2 separate regions of the Homo sapiens genome follow, and region 2 is linked to region 1. Evidence: promoter capture Hi-C in 16 types of primary human blood cells and fetal thymus (Javierre and others, 2016). All regions are on one chromosome and are shown on one strand. The core of a region is centred on a gene start or on the middle of the fragment in contact, and the rest is flanking DNA. Distances in the headings are between cores, read along the strand shown. Region 1 holds the start of SUPT7L (SPT7 like, STAGA complex subunit gamma). Region 2 overlaps TRMT61B (tRNA methyltransferase 61B).

What was found. Contacts are between HindIII fragments. The CHiCAGO score rates a contact against its expected background, and 5 or more counts as called.
Region 2: a fragment that was not itself captured here is called in contact with the fragment with the promoter of SUPT7L in region 1 in 1 of 17 cell types (monocytes); the score reaches 7.8 in monocytes.

What each region holds. Positions count from the first base shown.
Region 1 is chr2:27,662,090-27,664,989 of GRCh38, reverse strand. SUPT7L (SPT7 like, STAGA complex subunit gamma) reads left to right here and starts at 1,376. Exons shown (of 6, transcript NM_014860.3): 1 at 1,376-1,661; 2 at 2,709-2,811. The coding sequence starts at 2,798. It overlaps SLC4A1AP (solute carrier family 4 member 1 adaptor protein), which reads right to left and starts at 1,101. Exons shown (of 14, transcript NM_018158.3): 1 at 413-1,101. The coding sequence starts at 1,075. The HindIII fragment of the contact is 6,150 bases long and covers 351-2,900 here.
Region 2 is chr2:28,866,789-28,869,750 of GRCh38, reverse strand. It overlaps TRMT61B (tRNA methyltransferase 61B), which reads left to right. Exons shown (of 7, transcript NM_017910.4): 1 at 1-172. Among named protein-coding and RNA genes, the nearest start is that of TRMT61B, 2.0 kb to the left of the region's middle. RefSeq lists enhancers at 418-932, 933-1,448. The HindIII fragment of the contact is 657 bases long and covers 1,032-1,688 here.

The DNA.
Region 1 (2,900 bases), core at 127-2,626:
GACCTCCTGGGCTCAGGTGATCCTCCCACCTCAGCCTCCTGAGCAGCTGGGACCATGATGCCTGGCTAATTTTTTTTTTTTTTTTTAAGAGACAGGGTCTTGCCATGTTGCCCAGCCTCCTCTCAAACTCCTGGGCTAAAGCGATCCTCCCGCCTGGGCCTCCCAAAGTGTTGGGATTACAGGCGCGAGCCACCGCGCCTGGCCAAACAAGTTATTTTAGAGTTCGGGATTGTGAACATGACTTTCAGAAATATAGCAATGTGTACAGCCGTCTGAAGATGATAGGCCAGACTTGATTCCTTCACTTTCGTAATCGCTGAGTGGGAGATTCTTCTTCCTCATCCAAAGCTTAAGAAGCACAAGAACGCAGTCCAATGAACCCGAAATTTCAATTCTAGGTTTTTCTACCTACCTGCAGGATAAAGAGCCGGGTGCTGCCTCCAAAGCGAACAACATGCCCAACGTGGACTCGACAGTAGGTGCGAGGTGGGATGCGAGTTTTGTTGAGAAAAGTGCCATGGGTGCTTCCCAGATCGTAGAGGTAGAAGCCCGGCCCGTTGCTGTCGCATTCTCCGTCAGGGCCGGACGCCCTGTGCTGCAGCACTGCGTGGTACCGAGACACCGAAGGGTGCTCCAGGCACACGTCGCAGCCAGACAGCCTCCCGAAAAGGCAGTAACTCGTCCCTTTCAAGCTACGGGTGCCAAGGATAGTGCCGCCCTTCAGGGTCTCTAAGCTGTAGGGGGCTGTGGCAGGGCCACCCCATGGAGGCTCTTGGTAGGGGGGAGCCCGGGCTGGACCGCCAGGGGAAGAAACCGCTGTCGGGGGGCGCGACTGCTCCTCCTGTAGACTCCTAAAATCACCGCAGTCCGGCTGAGGAGGAGGGATGTCGGGCTCCCCAGAATTGGAGTCCTGCAACGCAGTGGGCCCTTCCTTCTGTACCTCCTCAGGGTTTGAAGAACTGCTGGCCGGGGCCTTACTCCGCGCCGCTGGGGACACCGGCAGAGCTGGCTTCTTGAAGTCCCCACTGAGGTCTTGCGACGCCAGGGTCTCTGACTGAGAGAGAATGTCAGCCATCCTCAACCGGTGCAACTTCGAAATCCGCTCCTTCGAAACCCACCCTTCGGTCTTTACGTTCCTGTCCACGTCCCACTCTCCCAAGCTCCCAGTGGCGTCTGTAGGCGGCGATGGTGAAGTTGCTCCTTCACGACCTGGAGCGTTGCGAAGTGGTGCTAACATGAGAAGGTCATAATATGAGAAAAACAAAACGGTTATCGGGATGCTGTGCAGAACGGGGACATATTTAGAGGTTACAACGGGATCGTAATGACTTCCTGTTGCATAGCTTGATTGAGAAGAAGCGCTTCCGGCGGTCTTAGATCACTAATCAACAAACCAGCTTTCGGGGTCTGACGCGATCCTTGCCTCAGGCCTCTCGAGGTCCAGACAGCCGCCCAGCCCGCTCTGCGACGCAGCAGTGAATAGTGTGGTACCTCCTTGTCTCGGTTCAGGTCCAGACCTCCCCGTCTTCCGGCTGCCCTGAACGTCAGGCGACCTCAGGACCCTGTGATTGGCGCCTGCGCCGGCGGACCGTGACCGAGGAAACCCCTGGAGGGACTTGGGCATTCCTTGGGCTCCGTGCCTGTTCTTCGTGCTCCTTTCGGTAAAGTAAGGGAAGAGGGCGACTTTTTTGTTATTTCGTTCATTCATTTATTTTTTTTCTGAAATTATTAAGGCAGAATAGTTAAGTGGTTAAGAGAGCAGACTCTGGAGACTGTCGATTTTTGACCTCGCCATTTGTGACATTGGGCAAGACACTAGGCCTCAGCCCTCACTCTGAAAAATGGGGATAAGATTATTAGCCTCATAGGGTTGTTGGAAGAATTGAATCAAACAATAAAGGCCAGCCAGACCGGTGGCTCATGCCTGTAATCCCAACATTTTGGGAGGCTGAGGCGGGAGGATTGCTTGAGCCCAGGAGTTCCAGAGGAGGCTGGGCAACATGGCGAGACCCTGTCTCGCCAAAAAAAAAAAAAAAAAAGAAAAAATCCAGGTTTGATGGTGCGCGCCTGTAGTCCCAGCTACTCCAGAGGCTGAGGTGGGAGGATTGCTTGGTCCCAGGAGGTTGAGGCTGCAGTGAACCATGACTGCACCACTGCACTCCAGCCTGGGCTACAGAGTGAAACCCTGTCTCAAAAAAGAAACAAACAAAAAAGGTGAAGTCTGGCATATAGTAAACATTCAACAAATGCCAGATATTTCTGTGTGCCTGGCCCTGTAACAAGACCACAGCCATAAGAAATAGACGGGCAGAAAAAATCTATTGCGATAAGTACTAATTAAAATCCAAGGATAACTGCTGTGACATAGACTTGCAAAGCACTGTGAGAATAGAGAAAGGGAGATGCACTGGTGAAGTGACGGACGGTGGGGACTTATGCTGTACTTAAAAATGAATATGAGTCTGCCAGGGATGTGCAAGGTTGGCAGAGCATTTCTGGCAGAGTTCACAGCTGAAAGTGTCAATTGTGGAAATGTACAGCATTCTCAAGAAACTGAGTAGTATAATGTTGTTAGAACAAAGGTAGTCATTTCACCCAGGAAGCTCCTCCTTTGTGCTTCCAGTACCCCAGGTCCATATACCTCTAGAACAGTACTTACCATGTTTCATATTGAAATATTCTGCTTCTGTTTCTCTTCCTCACTTCAGGGCAAGGATCTCACATTATCAGTCTTTGACCGACACAGAATGCCTGGCATTTGATAAATGTTTGTTGAACTTGAAGAGACATATGGACAATGAATCTGCAAAGGTGAGTTGAAACCAGATTGTGAATTTTGTTGAATGGTAAGCCAAGGAATTCTGACTTTTTCCAATAGGCAATGGGAAGCCATTTGATTT
Region 2 (2,962 bases), core at 111-2,610, 1.2 Mb before region 1:
CTTCGGACTCTTAAATAGTAACTGGGGGGCAGTCCCGTTCGGCAAGATCGTGGGGAAGTTCCCCGGCCAGATACTGAGGAGTTCCTTCGGTAAGCAGTACATGCTGAGGAGGCCAGCCTTGGAAGACTATGTAGTATTGATGAAAAGAGGGACTGCCATAACATTCCCAAAGGTAATGCGATGGAGATAAGGTGTGTATTGGTTTCAGGAGGGGCAAAGACAGATGCAGTACTCAGTCCTGATTAATGTATTCAAAGACATCTCAGAACGTTTGGATTTTTTATTGTACTCAGGCTTTTAAAATAAACCAATGGTTATAACTTTTACATATCATGATGAAAATTAGCATTAGGGAACGGCTAGATTTTAATTTTAACTTAGGAGTCTCGAGTCCCTTATTTGTAAAATGTGGATAATAGCTCAACTTTCTGTTAGGGTGATGTGAACTCACTACGTACATAATAAGTACTAATTTTGTTCCCCATTACTCTTAAGTTTATAACTTCAGGACTCAAGAGAATGTTGAACTCTTAGGGAACAATTTTTTAGTACTACTATGATGATATTTTAATATTCAATAATCATGTTACAAGAGTATATTAACAATAGGTACATTACGGTGCTTTTCCCCTTTTAGGGAAGAAATAGAGTTTTATATTACAATAGCTAACATTCAACACCAAACATAAAATGACTATTCTTTATTAAAAAGTTAACTGCCTAAAGCCTAGTTTCAGTCTTTTTTTTAAGACAAGTTCTCACTCTGTCATCCAGGCTGGAGTGCAGTGTTGCGATCTTGGCTCCCTGCAACCTCTGCCTCCCGGGTTCAAGCGATTCTCCCACCACAGCCTCCTGAGTACCTGGGACTACAGGCATGCACCACCACCCCGGGCTAATTTTTGTAGAGACGGGGTTTCGCCTTATTGCCCAGGCTGGTCTTCAACTCGTGGCCTCAAGTGATCCGCCCACCTCGGCCTCCCAGTGCTGGGATTACAGGCGGGAGCCACCGCGCCCAGCCCTAGTTTGAAGCTTATGCTAATCATCTATTGCTAGCAGATTATTTCAATCCTTAGTCACAGTCCTTGAGTAGAATGTTCCTGTGTAACACAACTCCTCCTCCTTTCTCCAGATCAGGATTCATTCGTTATTTATTCAGCAAATTGACTGCCTTCCATACTCAAGGCACTGTTTAGGGAAGTATAGTGTTGAACTGCAGTCCTCACCCTCAACATAGACCTTACATTCTAGAAGGGGTGACAAAGAACAAACAAGTAAATGAAAGAATAAGGTCATTTCCAGTAGTGTTAAGTGTCATGAAGACAAATATATTAACAATGACATTGTTTTGGGTGACCTGGGGTATGAGCATACTTTATGTCAGGTGAGGAGAGATGGTCTCCAAGGAGGTACACTTGATAGGAAACCTAAATAAGGAAGAGCTTGCCTTGTAAACAGATCTAGGAAGAGAATTGTTCTTGCAAAGGGAGGAATGCTGCAGAGTTTCTGTTGTGGCCTCAATGGGTCAGATGAGGGACCCCGTATGAGGTGTGGTTTGAGTATTTTATTCCATTTGTAGTGAAGGACCATTAGAAGGTTCTTAGTAGGAATCCAGTCTGTATTTTAAACGGTCTACCCAGGGACTAAAAAAACTTTCCTCAGAAACTTAGGCTACTGAGGTATAATAAGCTTTTTTTGTTTAAAGACAAGGTCTTGCTATGTCACCCAGGCTAGAGTGCAGTGGCTCAATCACCTCTTACTGTAGCCTGAACCTCCCAGGCTCCAACAATCCTCGCACCTCAACCTCCTGAGTAGCTGGGACCACAGGTGCATGCCACTATGCCTAGCTAATCAAAAATTTTTTTTGTAGAGTTGGGGTCGCCCTAACTTGCCCAGACTGGTCTCAAACTTCTCTAGGCTCAAGGGATCCTCCCTTGAGGGTGCTGGGATTACAGGTGAGAACGACCGCTCCTGGCCATGGTATCATAAGCTCTTGAAGAAAACTAAAAGACTTTCGTAATTTTATCTTGCTTCCCCGTGTCTCCTTTCTCCCCATTAGACAAAATCAGGAGAGATTAGTTACATTTCATGAAGTTATAAATATGCATATTTAGTATACTTTCTGCCTTTCCATTTGTTACAGATAAAAGTCACATTGTTCCACTCTAAGGAGGAATTTAAGTACTAAATTTGTTAGGTGTTGACTTCTCTTTATAGCTTCCAAGTAATGGCTGGAGATAGTTTTACTTCAACTTCTACAACTTTGAAATGCTTGAGGGAATACCTTCACTGATGTTTAAAAACTGATCTCCCTGTTAGAATTACATAATTCCATCTTAGTATTAAAAATATGACCAGAGGCAGAGTGCAGTGGCTCACACTTGTAATCTCAATATTTTGGGAGGCTGAGGCAGGAGGATCATTTGAGCCCAGAAGTTTGAGACCAGCCGGGGCAACATAGGGAGACCTTGTCTCTACAAAAAATAAAAAATTAGCCAGGTATGCTGGCACACACTTGTGGTCCCAGCTACGCAGGAGGCTGAGATGGGAGGATTGTTTGAGCCCAGGAGTTTGAGGCTGCAGCGAGCCATGATCTTGCCACTGCACTCCAGCCTGGGCAACAGTGTAAGATCCTATCTCAAAAAAAAAGTGAGGGGGCAGGTGCCGTCACTCACACCTGTAATCTCAGTGCTTTGTGAGGCCAAGGCAGGAGGATTGCTGGAGGCTAGGAGTTCAAGACTAACCTGGCCAACATAGCAGGACCCCATCTTTATAAAAAATAAAAAAAAAATTAGTTGGGCATGGTGGTACATGCCTGTGGTCCCAGCTACTTTGGAGGCTGAGGTAGGAGGATTGCTTGAGCCCAGAAGTTCGAGGCTGCCGTGAGCTACTATTGCACTACTACACTCCAGTCTGAGTGACAGAGACCCTGTCACCAAGAAAATTTGTTTACTAAATTTAAAAA